Linked DNA regions of Homo sapiens: all the other regions are linked to region 6. Evidence: promoter capture Hi-C in 16 types of primary human blood cells and fetal thymus (Javierre and others, 2016). All regions are on one chromosome and are shown on one strand. The core of a region is centred on a gene start or on the middle of the fragment in contact, and the rest is flanking DNA. Distances in the headings are between cores, read along the strand shown. Region 1 overlaps GNRHR (gonadotropin releasing hormone receptor). Region 2 overlaps UBA6 (ubiquitin like modifier activating enzyme 6). Region 3 overlaps LOC102724780 (a long non-coding RNA gene). Region 4 has its middle 17 kb from the start of GNRHR. Region 5 has its middle 25 kb from the start of UBA6-DT. Region 6 holds the start of CENPC (centromere protein C).

Evidence for each region. Contacts are between HindIII fragments. The CHiCAGO score rates a contact against its expected background, and 5 or more counts as called.
Region 1: a contact is called between a fragment that was not itself captured here and the fragment with the promoter of CENPC in region 6, in 9 of 17 cell types (fetal thymus, total B cells, naive B cells and 6 more). The highest score is 12.7, in fetal thymus.
Region 2: a contact is called between a fragment that was not itself captured here and the fragment with the promoter of CENPC in region 6, in 13 of 17 cell types (activated CD4 T cells, total B cells, naive B cells and 10 more). The highest score is 14.4, in activated CD4 T cells.
Region 3: a contact is called between a fragment that was not itself captured here and the fragment with the promoter of CENPC in region 6, in 1 of 17 cell types (naive CD4 T cells). The highest score is 5.0, in naive CD4 T cells.
Region 4: a contact is called between a fragment that was not itself captured here and the fragment with the promoter of CENPC in region 6, in 3 of 17 cell types (fetal thymus, activated CD4 T cells and non-activated CD4 T cells). The highest score is 7.6, in fetal thymus.
Region 5: a fragment that was not itself captured here is called in contact with the fragment with the promoter of CENPC in region 6 in 15 of 17 cell types (activated CD4 T cells, fetal thymus, total B cells and 12 more); the score reaches 12.1 in activated CD4 T cells.

What each region holds. Positions count from the first base shown.
Region 1 is chr4:67,747,338-67,750,430 of GRCh38, reverse strand. The region is part of intron 1 of GNRHR (gonadotropin releasing hormone receptor); the gene reads left to right. LOC124900175 (small nucleolar RNA SNORA62/SNORA6 family) reads right to left here; the gene lies at 3,045-3,093. Among named protein-coding and RNA genes, the nearest start is that of GNRHR, 5.5 kb to the left of the region's middle. The HindIII fragment of the contact is 453 bases long and covers 1,460-1,912 here.
Region 2 is chr4:67,677,425-67,680,476 of GRCh38, reverse strand. UBA6 (ubiquitin like modifier activating enzyme 6) reads left to right here. Exons shown (of 33, transcript NM_018227.6): 5 at 1,944-2,038; 6 at 2,755-2,866. Among named protein-coding and RNA genes, the nearest start is that of UBA6, 22 kb to the left of the region's middle. The HindIII fragment of the contact is 3,415 bases long and covers 1-3,052 here.
Region 3 is chr4:67,790,376-67,793,522 of GRCh38, reverse strand. LOC102724780 (a long non-coding RNA gene) reads right to left here. Exons shown (of 2, transcript XR_001741713.3): 1 at 3,012-3,147. Among named protein-coding and RNA genes, the nearest start is that of GNRHR, 38 kb to the right of the region's middle. The HindIII fragment of the contact is 3,422 bases long and covers 119-3,147 here.
Region 4 is chr4:67,769,639-67,772,949 of GRCh38, reverse strand. It overlaps the pseudogene TMPRSS11CP. Among named protein-coding and RNA genes, the nearest start is that of GNRHR, 17 kb to the right of the region's middle. The HindIII fragment of the contact is 1,045 bases long and covers 1,073-2,117 here.
Region 5 is chr4:67,724,500-67,727,503 of GRCh38, reverse strand. It overlaps the pseudogene LOC100419046. Among named protein-coding and RNA genes, the nearest start is that of UBA6-DT, 25 kb to the right of the region's middle. The HindIII fragment of the contact is 2,182 bases long and covers 376-2,557 here.
Region 6 is chr4:67,544,076-67,547,134 of GRCh38, reverse strand. It overlaps CENPC (centromere protein C), which reads left to right and starts at 1,632. Exons shown (of 19, transcript NM_001812.4): 1 at 1,632-1,797; 2 at 2,940-2,986. The coding sequence starts at 1,780. RefSeq lists a silencer at 1,348-1,487 and enhancers at 1,310-1,860, 1,638-1,877. The HindIII fragment of the contact is 5,245 bases long and covers 1-2,743 here.

The DNA.
Region 1 (3,093 bases), core at 437-2,936, 200 kb before region 6:
ATGTGTCTGTTAAAAATTTTTAAATAAAATACAGTACAAAAAATCCTGTACAAAAAGCCATAATGAATGAAACAGATATAAGTGGAGCTGCTCTGGTTAAAATAGAGGGAAAGGAGGACCAGTCCTCCACTTGGTTATTCACTAGCTCTCAGTCACAGTTACTAAAGACTTCCTATCTCCTTGCAGCAAAGTTCAAAAGCCAATGGGATAGTAAAAGTGGCATGAGTGTGAGATTCAAATGGAGTTGGGCTCAAATCTCAGTAATACTGCCTACCAGCTATGTGACTCTGAGCAAATTACTTACATTTAAAAGAGTAATTGTAAAGAATAAGTCATACAATTTATAAAATCATCTAAGACTTTACACCTTAATTTTAAATACTAATTTAATATTTATTTTTCTTCTTTTCCTTTCTTCCTAAGACCATCCTTTCTTCTTACCTTCATAAAAGAGGTTTTGAAGTCAGGAAAGAAAAAGTACAGAAATATGAGTATGGAATTGTTGGTTCTTTAAGAAACAGCAAAAAGAAATGCTTATATAAAAGTGGATTATTTCAAATTTTTCAAAATTATAGCATGCATTCTGACTGATTAGTAAACTACTCCCTGGTCACAAAGCTATCATACTCACTCTGCTAATTATACATGTCAGAGCACAGTAATTCAAGTCTTGGAGGTATCGTATATAAAAGTGGGGAAAGACGGAAGGAAGGAAGGAAGGAAAGAAGGAAGGAACGAAGGAAAGGAGGCAGGGAGGGAGGGAAAGGAGGGAAGGGGAGGAAAAAGGAGGAAAGGTAGAAAAGAAAAACGAAGGAGGGAAGGAGGAAAAGAAAAAGCAGCAAACACCCTGGGATAGCTTTGGTTTAAGACCATCTGTGGTTAGGGTGGTAAATATAAATTGAAGAGAAGACATTTCCTAAATTAGATGTGCCCGTATCTAATTTAAAATCACATGGTTTCTAATAAGAGTCATTTAATACCACAAGAATTCCAGAGTAGCAGGTTATTTGCAGAAAGAGTTCATAGCTTATCTGTGTTAAGCTTATCACTAGTTTATCTGTACTAATACAGAGTATTACATATTGACAGCTTTTAAATTCTATGGTTAACCCAGGCCTGCCGGCAAGAAATGTGGGCCACTCCTTAGTCCTTAGTGTAAAGATATGTTGTCTGAAGATGTGTGGAGGCTTGCCTTAACACACAGAGAATTTACTGGTGTAGAATGCACTACTGACATTGGCCAACGGTTTAAATTCAATAAATATTATCACACAGGTACAATATGCCTAACATTGTGCTACAACATAGTACTGTGCTACTAGCAGAAATAACAATAGCAATAATGTTGATGATGATAAATAATGCTTGAAGACATAAATATGTGCCAGGAATTTGGCTAAAAGCTTTTACATGCTAGGTTCACAGAACAGGCAGTGAATAAATATTAAATAAATAAGCTTTTACATGCAATATTTCATATAATGCTTCCAACAATCACATAAATTATGCACAATCATTATCTTTATTTTACACATGAAGAAACTAAACCTCCAATATTATATAACATGCCCAAAATTACTGTTTACTAAGTGGAAATCTCAGTATATCAGTATATTTAGTTATCTATATATGGCCATATCCATAGCCAGCTCTTTTTTTTTTAACAGTCAGAGGCTTCCCATTTATTTATTTATTTATTTATTTTATTATTATTATTATACTTTAAGTTTTAGGGTACACGTGCACAACGTGCAGGTTTGTTACATATGTATACATGTGCCATGCGAGTTAATGGGTGCAGCCAGCTCTTTTAACTACTACACTCTACCCAACTCTGCCCAGTGAACACTGCAATATTGTCTATTTCCTTTTTACCTGTAGGAGGCTGGGGAAGAAAAAGGCAGAAAAAGCTTGAAGTGAAAACTGATGCTTAAAACACATCAAGAAAAAAATATATATGATACACATTTATAAACATATAAACGCATATGGATACATATAAAAATTGTGTGCCTCAAGTTTTAATTATAATAATGGTAAAGATTTATAAAGTGCTGTGTTCCAGGCACTATTCCAGGTGCTTTGCATGTATTAACTCATTTATTGTCATGATAGGCCTTAGAGGTAGATATTACTATTTTCTCCATGTATGTAGATGAGGAAACTGAAGCACACATCTGAAGATAATTACCTGTGGACAACACTAGGTAAGGGTGTAATTAGTGTGGGTAAGGTGAGTGTTAAAGATAATATTCTAAGAAGAAATGAACAACTGCAATTGACTGTGAAAAACAAAAACAGAATGTTCTTGTTTATGGCAAAATAAAGCAAACACTGATAAGAACCAGGGCCAGGGGCAAGAGAGGAGAAATATACCAAAATTAAAGAAATATAATCCAAGGACAAATGAACAACTAAAAGCAAAGTGGATCTCTACATAAATCATTCAAATGAACATGGCCTTGGAGCACAAAATAAACGGAACTAAGACAATAGCAAGTTAATTTATGGGCAAGTAAGATTCTGAATTTGTGTACACTTTATTATACCTTTCTTAAAATTTATTGGTCTATCTTGTATTACCTGGGTCACATACATTTTAAATCTGCACTACCAAATATTAAATTCCCTGATTGAAGGATATAACTGCTTTATCTTTTATGACAGAGAATGCCAGCTATAGTTTATTTTACCAAAGAGTTGCTTAAAAAATAAGCATGTGTTAAATAAGATAGCCATTAACTCAATCATAGTACTATGTTTCAAAGTCATTGCTAATTGAAAGTTTCATCATTATGGCTTTTTTAAACATATTTTATTTTTTTAATTATAAATTTTTTCCAGTTACAAATGAACCAATTTGAACCACGCACTACCCATCTTTTTAGAATCTTATAGTAGAACTCACCAAGTTGGTGTGAAAACAGAAAGGCCAAGTAATGCCTGAGAGGCCTGAGTAAGAAATACAGACAAACGTAGAAAAAAAACACACTGCTTTTCAAATGTTTTCATCTCTCCTCAAAACTGGCATGCAATAACATTAGACTTGTCACAAGAACTCCTATCAAACTCCACTCATTGGGCCAGAGACCT
Region 2 (3,052 bases), core at 370-2,869, 130 kb before region 6:
TTCTTGCAATTTATTTGTTGAAGAAACTAGTCATTTGTCACAGGTATTTCTACATGTGTATTTCCTGTAAACTGGTAGTTATAGCCAGAGAATCCAGTTCAGATTTGATTCTTTTTGGCAAGACTGTTTCATAGCTGTTCTCCCATCAGGAGACAGTAATATTCTGTTGTCTCTCTTTTTGTGATTATTATTAGCTGTTAATTATTATTGCCTAGATTCATTATTTCATTAGGGGCAGTGATGATGTTTTATCATTCTTTTCTCATTTATTAGCTGGAATTATATTTTAGAAAAAAATTCCAGTCATGACTTTCTTGGTTTCACGAAAGTATGGATTGTACATTTACAAAATGCAGGATAAATACTACATTTTTCCCCATTAACTTACCAGTTTTCAAAATCAGTGGTTTCCTGTCATCATTTCGTAGTATTGACCAGTGAATTTATATGTATGTGTACATTATGATAAACTCATGGATTTAAACATAATTTGATGTGTTTTGATCTATTATAGTTATTTTCATTGATGCTCAGATTGTTCCATCTTTGGTTATTGTGGTTCTCTTCCTGTTTTTTGAGGCTTTGAGACACAGCCCCCAGTAGTCTTTGTCGCTGTTTACAAAGTCTTTTCAGTGGGCAGAGCTAGAACGTTCGTAATGAGTAAATACTGAAATTTCTGATTTTCAGGTTTAGGCTTATAAAGTATTACTAAAATTTCTAATTTTTACTTTGGATTATAGGATATTTATTTCTGTGATTTTATATTTGTATCTTATTAGGATTTTGGTTTCTAATGATCCATTACGTGCTTTATCCTATATATGCTATATATTCTTTATCCTATTATATTTTACTTGTATGGCATAGTTTCAGAATACCAATTCCAATATTGTTAATAATAATGTATTATTGAAAAAAATTTAGAGTTTTTTGATCCTACCTGGATTTGGCAGGCAAATTAACTGCTTTTAAAAGTCACTTTAAATAAATCTCTGTGTGTAGCAGACTCCATAAACAGTTTAGTCCATGTATTTGTTTTGCTTTGGATTTTTAGAGATTGCTTTTTAAAAAATTTAGTTTTACTATTATGTGAGATTTATGATTCAAAGTCAGATTTTTTAAACAAAGTATTTTCAGGTAAGTCTAGCTTCTTGTTACCTTGTTTCCTCCTTCACTTATTAGGTTACTGTCTTTTTATATTTGGTTTATTCTTCATTTGTTTTTGTAGATAGGTAAATGCATACACACATACATGTGTATCTGTTTATGTGTGGGTATATATGTTTATCTCCTCCCACCTTTCTCATATAAAGTGCTCTACTTTTCTTTACCTTGCTATCTCTTTATAGCATATCCTGGAGATTACTCCATATTTATAAATACATCTTTCATTCTTTTTTTAATAGTTGCATGATTATACATTGTACGGATGTATCATCTTAAAGCCAGTTCCCCATTGGTGGGCATTTTGATTATTTCCAGTCTTTTGCTCTTACAAATAGTGTGCTATATTTAATACTCTTGTATATATAGCTTTTTGTATTTCTCCCAGTGTGTCTTTGAGATGGAGTCCTAAAAGTGGGATTGCTGCATCACAGGATAAATGCATATGTCTTTTTGCTAGAGATTGCCAAATTCCTTTCCGTTGAGGTTGAGCCAGTTTACCTTGTTAATCAGTAATAATGAGAGTCGCTCATTCACCTCACCATCACCAATAGACTATGTTGTCAAACTGTGGATTTATGCCAATCTAACAAGTGAGAAAAGTTATTTCATTTCTGGGCAAGGTTGAACATCTTTACATATTTTAATTCTTATGCCTTTGTTTACTTTTCATTGTCTAATTACACAAAATAATAGTTCTAGTACATTGTCAGTAATACTGGAGAGAGTGCATATCCTTGAACTCCTGACTTCAACCAATACTTTTTTCTTTTTTGAAGGCAGTTACAATTCATGATACAGAAAAATGCCAAGCATGGGATCTAGGAACCAACTTCTTTCTCAGTGAAGATGATGTTGTTAATAAGAGAAACAGGTAAAGATATTTTGATGTATTATCATGAGTTTTTTTAAATTTATTTACTTAAAATATTTCCTTTATCTAGAACACCAATCAGTCATAGTTGTTTAAATATAAAGTGCTCTACTTTATACAGGTAAAGATATTTTTATGTATTATGAGTTTTTTTTTAACTCATTTACTTAGAATATTTCCTTTATCTAGAACACCAATCAGTCATAGTTATTTAATTGATCACCATAAATTCCTACTACTGTGGCTAAATAAATATTGATATATACTTAATTATTTGTATTTGTCAAATTTTTTATATATTTACATAATATGTATTATATAATATATATTACATATAATATATCTTTTATATATATTATATATATAAAAGATATATATATATTACACTGCTACCTAGAAATGTATTTCCTTGAATTTATTAAAGAAGGACTTTAGTGTTGCTAAATTATTAAGAAAGTTAAGGAGCCTGGAGCTTGGAACTATTAGGGTACACTTTGAGATTGTGTGGTTTATTGTAGAATATGATAGTATATCATTTCAAGATTGTATGGTTACCTGTAAAGACAAGTAAGTTTTGGTTTCTTTCTTCTACAAGGTAAGTTTCCATTGAAATTTTGTAACATGTCAGGTTCCTCTGATGTCATTACAGTGTCCAACTTGAAGAGATTTGAGTATATTGAATTAAAGAACAGTAAAAATTTATTTTATTTTTTTAGGGCTGAAGCTGTACTTAAACATATTGCAGAACTAAATCCATACGTTCATGTCACATCATCTTCTGTTCCTTTCAATGAGACCACAGATCTCTCCTTTTTAGATAAATACCAGGTTAGTACTCCATTTTGTATTAAATGTTATTGACAGGTTCCAGGGCAAAATTGTTAAATATTAATATGTTTAACTAATTTAACCTAGTGTATTGAGAAACAGAACAAAAAAATTTCAAGGTAGAAGACATATTAGAATAAAACCTTTCAAATTCTCCATTTTAAGGAAGGGACCTAAGAACTACTG
Region 3 (3,147 bases), core at 580-3,079, 250 kb before region 6:
AGAGAATATTGTCTCTCTCAGCAAAAAGCTTACTTACACTTAAGCTTAAACAAAGAGTTAGTATATATGAGATGAAAGGCACAATTAGTATGATCGTTTCACAAATGTATTTTAAGCTTGTTCAGTATAAGCTGTGTGGTGTGGATGGGACCTAATGCTGTGGTTAGTTGATAAAATCAACAGTGACTGAAAGCTGCTCAATGAGAAGAGTTGAAAACTCTTGTCAACAAGATGCCCGGAGCCCCATATTTTTCAGTCCACTGGCCTGTACATCCTTTGTCACCATTTTGGCCAACAGTCCCAGCCAGGGCCAAGATCCTTTGTGACATCTCTTATAGAAGGTGTTCTTTTTTTCAGAGCACTTCCTCTCAAGGTTTATTTTTTCATATTTATTGATAGATTTTAATTGACAGGGAAAAATTATACATATTTATCATGTAAAATATGATGCTTTGAAATACATACACATTGTAGAATGGCTATATCAATCTAGTTAACATATGTATTACCCTCAGATATTTATCATTTTCATGGTCAAAATTCTAAAATCTACTCGTTTAGCAATTTTCAAGAATACAAGACATTGTTATTAATTACAGTTACCATGTTATACAATACGGCTTTTGAATTTATTCCATCTGACTGAAATCTTGTATCCTTTGGCCAATAAATCCCCAACCCAATTTCTATTCCGTAGTAACCACCATTCTACTCTCTACTTCTGTGAGTTCAATTTTTTTAGTTTTGGCATGTGAGATCATGCATTATTTGTCTTTCTGTGCCTGGTTTATTTCACTTATAATTTCCTCCAGGTTCAACCATGTTGTTTCAAATGACAGGACTTCCTTCTTTCTTATGACAGAATAGTATTCCTCTATGGATACATAGCACACTTTTTTTAATCATTCATCCATTGATGGACATTTTGGTTGTTTCCATATCTTGGCTATTACGAAAAATGATGCAATGAACATGGGAGTGCAGATATCTCTTCAGCATACTGATTGTATTTCCTTTGAATACATACCAGCAGTGGAATTGCTGGATCATATGGTAGTTTTGTTTTTAGTGTTTTGAGAAACATCCATGTTGTTTTTCTTTTTTTTTTTTTTTGAGACGGAGTCTCGCTCTGTCGCCCAGGCCGGACTGCGGACTGCAGTGGCGCAATCTCGGCTCACTGCAAGCTCCGCTTCCCGGGTTCACGCCATTCTCCTGCCTCAGCCTCCCCAGTAGCTGGGACTACAGGCGCCCGCCACCGCGCCCGGCTAATTTTTTGTATTTTTAGTAGAGACGGGGTTTCACCTTGTTAGCCAGGATGGTCTCGATCTCCTGACCTCATGATCCACCCGCCTCGGCCTCCCAAAGTGCTGGGATTACAGGCGTGAGCCACCGCGCCCGGCCCATGTTGTTTTTCTTAATGGCTACACTAATTTACATTCCCATCAACAGTGTGCAAGAGTTCACTTTTCTTCACACCCTCTCCAACACTTGTTATCTTTTGGCTTTTCCTTTGCCCCATTTTTAATTGGGTTATTTGTTCTCTTGTTATTGTTTGAGTTCCGTATATTTTGGATATTAATCCCTTATCAGACATGTGTCTTGCAAATATATTCTCCCATTCCATAGGTTGTCTCTTCATTTTGTTGATTTTTTCCTTTACTCTGCAGGAGCTTTTTAGTTTCATGTAATCCCATTTGTTTATTTTCCTTTCTGTTGTCTGTGCTGTTTCATATCCAAAAATTATTGCCAAGGCCAATGTCTTAGAGCTTTTCTTCTACATTTTCTTCTAGTAGTTTTACAGTTTCAGGTCTTATGTTGAAGTCTTTTATCAATTTTGAGTTGATTTCTGTATAAGATATGAATCTCCAGATTACAGTAGATATGAATCTCTAGGTTACTGTCTTTCCCACCTTTAGATTATAGTTTGATGGGAAATACAGTCAGTAGTCAAATAATCACTTTAGTAAATGCATAGTTCAAACCTCTTGCAGAGGCCATGTTCATTTTTGCCCAGCATTATATTGTCAGAGCCTAGCACAGGGCCAGACACATGGCAGTAAATATTTATTGGATGAATTAATATTTCATAATATAAAAGCTGCAACTAACAACCAGGATAGCAAGAGAGAACATATGTACCCCTTCTCAACTCATGTTACACAAAAGAATTAAGCCCTAAAAACACGACATGGGTGAGTGTGTTTTCAGTTCTTCCAAAGATGATACATAGTTAATACCATTCCAGTTGCATAAGAGAGAGGTTTATTCGTCTCATATAACTGTTGCCATAGACAGTAGAGTTTAATTTTCTTCCAGAATCTCAATTTAGGAGGGATGATGACAAGTATGGCAGAGGTGTGCTACTAGTAGACATTGCTACCCCCAGATTTAGGATGTAAAAAGTACTTCAATTATTAAGATCCATAAATATAATGTATAATTTTATTTTCCAATTACTCCTGAATCTCATGAAAAGTAGCAATGCTACTACTTTCTGAGAAATTAATAAAATCAGTATTTCTGGAGTGTATTATTTAGTGAGAGATCAAAGTTTTCTCTATCAATTCTAAACTTTCTAAATCAGAAGACTTTAAAATTGCCTATTTAGCATAAAACCTAGAAAAACCATTGATAGCATAGTTTTCCTCTGCCTATGAAAGAATTATTTCCTGAAAAATCTCTCCTAGGGTAAATTCCTTGACCTAATTCTATTGATTTCAATGGGAAAAGATTTTAAGCATCCCCAAGCCCTCAAATTTATATTCATTTATGCTTGAACAATATCACATTCCTGTAACAAAGAGATGATTACATAGTTAAAATTAGTTAAAACAATTTTTCTTTTATTAAGTAATTTATGACTTCTTATACGATCTCATTAGGCTATTCTATAGTTTAACAATCAAAACAGAATATACATATGATATTTAATGTTTGTATAATTCAAACTTCAATGCAAAAAAAAAGAAAGAAAAGAACAAGTAGAGAAATGCAAGTGATATCTCACTTACCAAACAGTTGACTTCACGGCGTGATACACTTGACTATCACTGCCATAAGCTATCAACCCAAGAGCTAAAGGAAAGAGCACAACACTAGATTAGCTGAACCAACTATAAAACTGCAAAAATGACCACATAGTAGATC
Region 4 (3,311 bases), core at 346-2,845, 230 kb before region 6:
CTGGATTAACAAATAATAATAAGTCAGAAATACATTTCTTTTTATAGATTTTAATGGTCAAAAAGAAGATTTAGACTATTTCCATAATTTCCCTTAGTTCACTTTCCCATACCCTTGCCCACTTTTTGTTTAATCTTATTATCCTATATTGTCATCATTTATTTTTCTAAATCCCCTTCAGTCTTTTCTATACAGAATAAGAAATAAAATGTAGTTTTCATGGGTTATCTTCTAAACATAACATTGCATTATTCAAAATCTGCTCATGTTATCATTATTTTTATTTTTCTCTTATACACAACTTTATTTTTGTATGCTTACAAGTATCATGGGAACTCAAAACATACGTAATTGTTTTTAAAATTGTAAGACATTAATTCCTACAAGTACAATACACAGGACTTTTAATTAATAAATCTATTTTTTAGGGTCCATGATCCCAAAGAATGGAATGTTATTTTAAGTAACCCACAAACACAGTGAAATATCAAGAATGTTATAATTCAAGAAAACTACCATTACCCTGCACACGATAATGACATTGCTGTTGTGCATCTATCTTCACCAGTGTTATATACAAGCAACATCCAAAAAGCATGTCTTCCAGATGTTAATTATATATTCCTATACAATTCAGAAGCAGTGGTTACTGCATGGGGATCATTTAAAGTCTGATGGTGAGTTCCTCACCTGACTCCGTTATATGGCTTGAATTTCAGGAGTTAAAAAGTAAAATACTCAGAATTACACCTAAACTGAAAAATACTTTCTCTGGATCATTTTTAAGAGTACAATGTGGAATGGATTGAAAATTATCCTCAACAACATTCATGCAGAAACTATAACTTCATAGAGCTGCTTACTATAATTCCTCTTAAGATGGCAGTTTTTCAAGAAATATATTATTTGAATAAGTAATTCATTTCCTTCATTCATTTATTCATTTACTAATGGAAAATAATTACCACCTTTGTTCAGGGATTGTTCTAGGTGGTTTGGATACGTTAATGAATGAAATGGGCAGATAATTCCTGCCTATTTTCTTAGTTAAAAAAAAAAAAAGGAAAAAGCTTTCATCCTTAACAAAGGAAAATGGACAATTTCATGAAATGAAGGATGTAAGTATATTAAAAGAAATAAGTAAGTTATAGCAAATTTTATGCAGTTAAGTGCCATAGAAAAAAATAGGGACTGTAGGGGATTCAGCATTTTTAATGAGGTGACAAGGTGATACTTGAGCAAAGATTTAAATATATGCATCCCCATGACCCTAATAATGTGAACACTTAGTGGCTATTAATGTCTGTAAATGCAGTTTGAAAGCAGAAAAATAAACCTAAAATTAATTTCAAGATTCAGAATTACAGTAAAAATTTAGCTTAAAAATTTTTAAATAATCATAAAATGTATGCTCCTGCAATATGAGTTTTTCATTTTGTTTTCTTTTGTTTTTGTTTGTTTGGTTGGTTGGTTTTTTTTTTTGTTTTTGTTTTGTTTTTGTTTTTTTCGAGACAGAGTCTCACTCTGTTGCCCAGGCTGGAGTGCAATGGCATGATCTCGGCTCCCTGCAACCTCCGCCTCTCAGGTTCAAGTGATTCTCCTGCCTCAGCCTACCAAGTAGCTGGAACTGCAGGCATGAACCACAACACTTGGCTAATTTTTGTGTTTTTAATAGAGACAGGGTTTCACCATGTTGGTCAGGCTGATCTCGAACTCCTGATCTCAGGTGATCCGCCCACCTCGGCCTCCCAAAGTGCTGGGATTACAGGCGTGAGCCACAGCACCTGATTCATTTTGTTTTCTAAGACATCTTTTCTGTACAGAATAAGAAATAAGATGTAGTTTCCATGAGTTATCTTCTAAAACATAGCTTATTGAGTTATTCAAAATATGCTCATGTTATTTTTTTACTTATATACAACATATTAATACATTAATAAACATATTATTACATATTAATACATGTAATACATATAAAATTTCAAAACAATTCAAAAGAAAAAATCTTATTACATATAGATGTACACACTAAATATTTCTAAAAATGGTCATTTTTCAGCAACAGCTTGGTATGTTTATAAACATTACTTGCTTTTTTGTTACTACAGCTAAAAGCTTAATTATACTTTACACTGATTTGATTTAGAAATTGTACATAGTGTTAAAGTTAGATACTAATAGCCTAGCCAGAAAGATTAATAGTGACATCAATAAAAATTATACAATTTTCTTCCTTTACGAACAACTTCTAATGTACTCCACAAGGGATTAGTGAAGATTATAGATAATAGGACCTGCAACAATGGGGAGGCAGATGGCAGAGTCATCACATCTGGAATGTTGTGTGCCGGGTTCCTGGAGCCACGTGTGGATGCCTGCCAGGTAAGTCTGTTTATTCTAATTTCAAGAACTTTATTCTTGTAGTTTTAAATTTCCAAATAATCAGTTCAGTTTTCTCAAGGGATTGACAATTTTTAAAGGCTTAAGTATGTTTCCTAGCCAAAGTATCTAATTAGAATTACAATGATATCAAATAGGTCTCATTAAAGTCCTAAAGTGCTAAATTACCTTGCTGTATAAAGCTGTGAGCAGGAGTGGGAAAGAAACTCAATTTAGAATAAGCAATGAAGAGATGAGATGGTTTACTGGTGACTTTAGTATGATTGTCATTTCACTGAGAAACATTCAGCTGTGTCTAATAGCAAAATTAACAATCATGGAGCTTTCACAATGTGATTCCAACATCCTAAATATTTTATTGATTTAACAACTCTTATATAGTATTCCCATGTGCCAAGCACTGTTTTCAGCACTTTACAAATATTAATTTATTATAGTTACCTCAGTCCTCTGCAGTATATTTGTGCTATTGTAAGCCCTATTTCTAGATGAGGAAATTGAGACAAAAAGATCAAGTAATTTGTCTAAACTCACAGAGCTATTAAGCGGCAAAAGAACTGAGATTTAAACGCAGGAAATTGGGCTCTAGGGCCTATGCTCTGAACTCTACACTAAGATGTTTTTCCTTATGCTTAATGTGCTTTTAACAATTGTTGCTGTTTATGAACAATAGTCCCAGAGCTAACAAAAGTTTCTAAGCAGGTAGAATCAGTGATAAATCCAAGAAAACCTTTATTTTATTCATGCAATCTTTCATGTAGTGATTATTTATTGACTACTACCTATGTGCCAGATACGGTGCTATGTTCAGGGAAGTTAAAATGAACACAGCATATTCCTGTACTCTAGGAGCTAGCAGACATGCAAACAAGTATTTGCAATACATAATCATCATCTCTAATTACAAATTT
Region 5 (3,004 bases), core at 217-2,716, 180 kb before region 6:
AGAGTTCTGGGCTGACGTTTTTAAGGGGTTGTGGACAGCCAGGGGCTGGAAAATTGAGGTTGCTGATGGGTCAGGAGAAGAGAGATGAAATCATCAGGATGTGGAAACTGCATTCTTTGCTGAGTCAGCACCTCATGGGGTCCTTCAGACCTGCTGGCATCAGTAGTTTCACATCAGTAGTTTCACCGGTATGCGGGACTTGAAAGAATATCTCAAATGGATAAAAGCTTCACAATGCTTAAGATGTTATCTAGGGGAACTATAATCTTGTGACAGGGTCTACGTGATTCTGGGGCAATAGGCAGGAAACAACCATGAGGAAGCAGGTCAGACAGCAAGCTGACCTAATGATTAATGCTGAATGTGCTACAAGCTTGGTTCGTTTTTGTTTCTCTCCTTCCCTTCTTCCCTGGCTAATTTTATGCAGTTGATAGGGACAGTTTCACAGTCATAACTCAGTGTGCAGAGCTAGGGAAAAACAGCCTGCCATGAAGCTCATGGCAGCACTATATCTGAACAAAAGTGGGGTCCCGTTAGCAAGAAGAAAGGAGATCTATTAAGAAACAAGGTGTATGGTGTCTGTCACACTTTCAGCAACTAAATAGAGTTTGCAATTAGGTGTCATCAATGTCCATCATTTCTGTCCAGTGGAAGTAATAAAAGTAATGGGACCATCTGGCATTTAAAGCATTCATCAGATCTATCCACAAAACTTTATGGTGTAAAATCTATTTATTACCTATTTCCTTCATCTTCAATTTCCCAAGACATAGAAATAACGACAGAATCTCACCAGCAGAGGGCTAAGAATTCATGCAGGTAATTTTTAAATTATTATTATTATTATTATTATTATTATCTTTATTTGATAATAAAGAACATGTAGGAAAACTTTTCTGAGTAGTGTTTACCTCTTGGCATACTAAAACTGTCATTTCACTGCTTCATAAAAATAGATACTTTGATTCTCAGTTAGTCGGAGATGATAACCTGGACTTAATATTTGCTCTCACATCTTTACTTCCTATCCCTGCCACTATGCATTAAAGCATCCCTAATTACATCAGTGAGGGTATTATCCAGATTGTAAATAATGTAAATAACTGGTAGGAGCTCTAATGCCTGGAATACAAAATTTAGCCCAAATCCAATGCCAAACAATAAGAGCATTCTGAGAGAAGATGACTCCTTTAATACCTTCTTCAACGGGACTATTGTGGTCAAGCATGGCTCCACAAAATTGTTTGTGGACCTAGAGCCAATACGTGGTGATGAAGTTTGCCTTAGGAAGCGATCACTAGCAAAGAAGATGCATCAAATAGCTTTGCCTCTAGTCACTACACCGTTGAAAAGGAAAGCATTGACTAAGTGTTGGATTGGATTCAGAAGCTAGCTGACTTAAGTACAGGTCTTCAGGCTTTCTTGAATTTTTGCTGGTTGGTGGTAACTACAGTTTTTATTTGCCTTTCTGTTGATAGAATCTCTATCAGTTGATTATAGGAGCAAAATTCTCCATTTACCCAGCTCCTTAGCTTTCCTTAGCTGAAGCTGAGGTCTTCAATTCCATCAACTCTTTAGCACTTTGATTGTGTCTTCATATTAGATAATGAGGCCATCTATAATATTTATGTAGAAACCTTAATATTGAGCACCCAATACACAATAACCTTAAGCACATTTTCAACCAGTGTGTATTCTCCATCATTGTTTCTCTCAGATTTCATGGTGCCTTGAATGTCAATATATCAAAATTTTATACTTATTCTCTATCTTTATGTCTACTTCCCTCCGTGTATATATCCAGCTATCTCTGCTGGGAAAACCTACCACAAACATTTTCTGTAGCAGAGATAACTAATGCTTGCTCTGAGCTAGCCAACCAGATGATATGTGACACTTGAAATGATAAATGTATGGCTCACTACCTATTGTATAGTATTATGGTAATAATACATTATTACTATATCAGTGTAATATGGTTTCCACAAATATGAAGGCTGCATTGCCACCATCAAGACAAATTTGCAGATCTGTGCCTCTCTGGCTTCAAGGTTGGAATCAATTATCAGTGTCCCACTGCAGTTCTAGTAGAGACTGCCAAAGTAAATGCAGTTGTGTGCTCATGGAGCAATACTGCAGTCATAGCTGAAGCCTGGACTTGCCTAGACCGCAAGTTGGTCATGCCAAGAGTGCCTTTGTTCACTGTGTATAAGGGTGAAGAGATGAAAGAAGGGGAGTATTCAGAAGCATGGATGGCCTAGGGAAAGATTATAAGGCAATGTGGATTTCAGAGGATCAGGGAAAGAAGGAGAGAAATATAAGTTGTCTATTCCCTTTAACTTGCCACATCTTAGCACAGTTTATCTTTAACTTAAGTCATCAGTGTCTGATTAGATTGTCTTTACTTTCAAATGTGATTGCTCCTGCATAACTCTTGTGTACCTACAAATTTTTTTCTATTTTCATCCATGAAAGTAAAGGCTTTAACAAACAGAATGACATATAGATGTGTGTATGCATGAGTGTGTATGGAGAGAGATGACAGAAAGAATAAGCTTAAGGCTCAGTGTGGTGGCTCACACCTGTAATCCCAGCACTTGGGGAGGCCCAGACAGGTGGATCACTTGATCAGGAGTTCAAGCCAGCCTAGCGAACATGGTGAAACCCCCCTATACTAAAAGTACAAAAATTATCTGAGATCCATGGAGGGCACCTGTAATCCCAGCTACTCAGGAAGCTGAGGCAGGAGAATCAATTGAATCTTGGAGGCAGAGGTTGCAGCGAGCCAAGATCTCACCACTGCACTCCAGCCTGGGCAACAGAGTGAGATTCCGTCTAAAAAAAAAAAAAAAAAAAAAAGAATAGGCTTAAGAAGGAAAGGCTATCATCCCTGAACTTGAACCTGAAATACCTGTTGTATTTACAAATTCCCAAGTAACTCGGCTCCTCTCTAGTTTTATTTTGAACACTCTTTTTATTTTGGCTCCTCTCTAGTTTTATTTTG
Region 6 (3,059 bases), core at 383-2,882:
ACAAGCCATTGCATTCCAAATTTCTCAAAATAAGTGTGGGACTTAGTTTCCAGTGGAAGCAGGAGGATATAATTTTACATGTGGGACTTTACATCTATAATCGTGCTTGCTAAAATTTCTTACCCAGAGGCAAAGAGTGTAGTGATTAAGAGCTCAGTTGTGGAGTGAGAATTCTTGGGATAATAACCCATCCTACCATTTAGTGGTGATGTGATCTTGGGTAAGACACTTAGCTCTCTGTGTTTCAGTGCCCTTGTTTATAAAACAGGAATATTAATTGTTCTCTTCAATGCATGCAAAGCATTTCAGAACTGGGCATAGAGTATGCAGTCAATAAATGTTAGTGTTTATCATTATCTATTCCAAATGTGACAGCACCAAATTATAAGTTGGACTGATTGGCAAAACTGCCAAACATAGTAAAAAACTCTCCATAATGATTCCAATAGCTTTATTATTGAATTCTTACTATGTTCCAAACATTGTGCTTAGATCTTAACAGGAATTATTCAATTACAACATCTCAACCACTTTAATAGTATTCTCATTTTGCAGACAAGAGAATTAAGGAACAGATAACTTAGTTGCCCATAATGGCAGAATTAATGGAATGGAGTGCAATCCAGGCCTAATTTCAGTCAGAGATCATAGTTCCTTTTTTTCTATCAAAAAAATAAATAAAATAAAAAAATTGGCCTTCATAGTTGACAGCATTTGTTAAAGCACTACATGTTTTAAAAATCTATTAGCTCAACTCCTGATTAATGTATTTATTCAATTAGTAAACTATTTTCTGATTAGAATTTTCTTGTAATTTTAAATTAAATAATAAAATAAGATACAGCTTCATAGAATCATACACTGGTCAGGTGAGAAGTCTTCAGAGCGTCTAATTTAGACTTCCATTCTATCACTATGGAAACACCCAGAATGGTGCCGCAATTTTGCCCTCCATAACATAGCTAGTCAATGGCTGGCAGGTTTCAGGATTCTGTATAGAATTCTTTTCAGTGCATCATACTTAAATGATAGATATTTACGTGGGTCATTTGTTGGCAATGCATCATAAAAATATCGCCCACATACTTGAAAAAGAATACAAGCCATCATCACCATTATTATACATAATTATTCAATTATTTTCAGAGATGATGGTTAGATGGGCTGGGCGTGGCTGACGAATCTGCATTAGAAAAATCTCTTCAAAAAAAGATTCTATTAAAAAAAAAGTCGTCTGCAATTTCTACCTCTCATCCTTCCAAGTATTACTTATTATTCCTTAATAGAACTGTTGAGAAGTTTTACATTGGGCACAAGGAGCGGTTCCCAGGATCGTGCCTTCCTAATAAAAGCCCAGTCTCGCGCCTGTCCCGGGCGCGGCGCTGAGGAAGGGAGGTGGGAAGAGCAGAGCGGCTAGAGGTAGGGCGGGCGGGTGGGTCTGCAGGCTGGAGGGCCGTTGGCCTGGAGCATGAAGGGGCGAGCCCACTAACGGCTTGCTTCCTATTGGACGGCGCGGCCCGTTTTGCGCATGTGTCTCCGGGTTCAAACCCAGGCACAGGCCAAGCGTTCTTGTTTGTTGAGGGCGGAGCCAATGGCGGGGGAGTGTTGTTAGCGCGCGCCTTCCGGATCGCAGCTCTCGCGGCAGTCGCCTGAGACTTAAGGTTATTGCTTGGCCGCGGCCTGGTATTCCGGCGATTCGTTTCTTGCTCGGCTTCCTGGAGCTGTGGTCCGTGTGGGCTTCCACCTCAGACAGTTGCGCTGGCTCAGCGGGGCCGGAACATGGCTGCGTCCGGTCTGGTAAGTGCAGGCCCCCCGCTCCAGGCGAGTGGTTGAGCGGCTGGCTGGGGCACGGGCGCCCGAGGCTGGGGAGAAGGAAATGCTAGGCTGAGGCTGTGATCTCTGAGGGATTTCAGTGGGAAAGCCGCAGGAATTTTTGAAATCAAGTGTGATCGTGTGTCGATAACCAGAGTTAATTTACTGTACTTTTATTATTTCTTAAGTTTTCATGTCGTCATTTCGTCTGTGCCTACGTCTTACTCTTGAGAGGTGCTTGTGATTTCTGCTGGGTTTTTTTTTGTTTTTGTTTTTGAGACGGGGTCTTGCTCTGTCCCCCAGGCTGGAGTGCAGTGGCGCGATCTTGGCTTCTGCTTTTTAGTCTAGCTCCAGTTCCTAGGCCTCCAAATAACTTTTCTCCCCATGGTAGAAGTATTGAAACGCCTTAAAAGTGTGTCTTTGCGTCACACTTGGTAGTTGGGAGAAACAGATTATGTAACAAGTACGTCTCGAAATAATTTGACGTTTTCAGTTCTTCTGTCAAAATGGTGGCCTTTTATGCAGTTCTTGAGGCTGATTTATGGAGCATATGTTATTGACAAACTCTTCTGAAAGACAGCTATCAGTTAAAAGGTACAAGCTGTGAATGACTAATGGGGGCGACAACTCATTTTGTTTACATATTTCTGGACTTCTTTGGTGTTCACTATTCTATATTTCATACTTTGGTTATGGTTACTATATAAAAATCCGTATCATTTCTTTTCTAATTTATCTCCCCTTCTAAGAAAATCTTCAGCTTCGATGATCTCCCATTATGTGACGTTATACATATAAACATAAAGAGTTGTATGAAAGAATAATATAATCTATACTTTTTACTATGAGCACATATATTGTTTACATTATATATAATCAGAAGAAAGCAATAAAGCCATTCTCACTGTGGGGAGAGAAGCGGAATAAAGCTTACCAGATGCCTGCAGTTCAGTTTTTAAATGCCTGTCATAACCTATGTTATGTCATAACATAACCTCAAAATTGTTTTGAGCCCTTAGGAGATGTTTGGTGTATAGCATGCCCATACTGGATGAAGTTACTTTGAAAATAAATTTTACTCGACTCTATCTTAAAGAAACCAAATTGATGATTTACTTTTCTTTCAGGATCATCTCAAAAATGGCTACAGAAGAAGATTTTGTCGACCTTCCAGGTGATTTACGTACTTAAGCTTTTAAGATTATTTTTATTCTCATCGTTAATAGATTTTTAAATGAAGAAAGGAA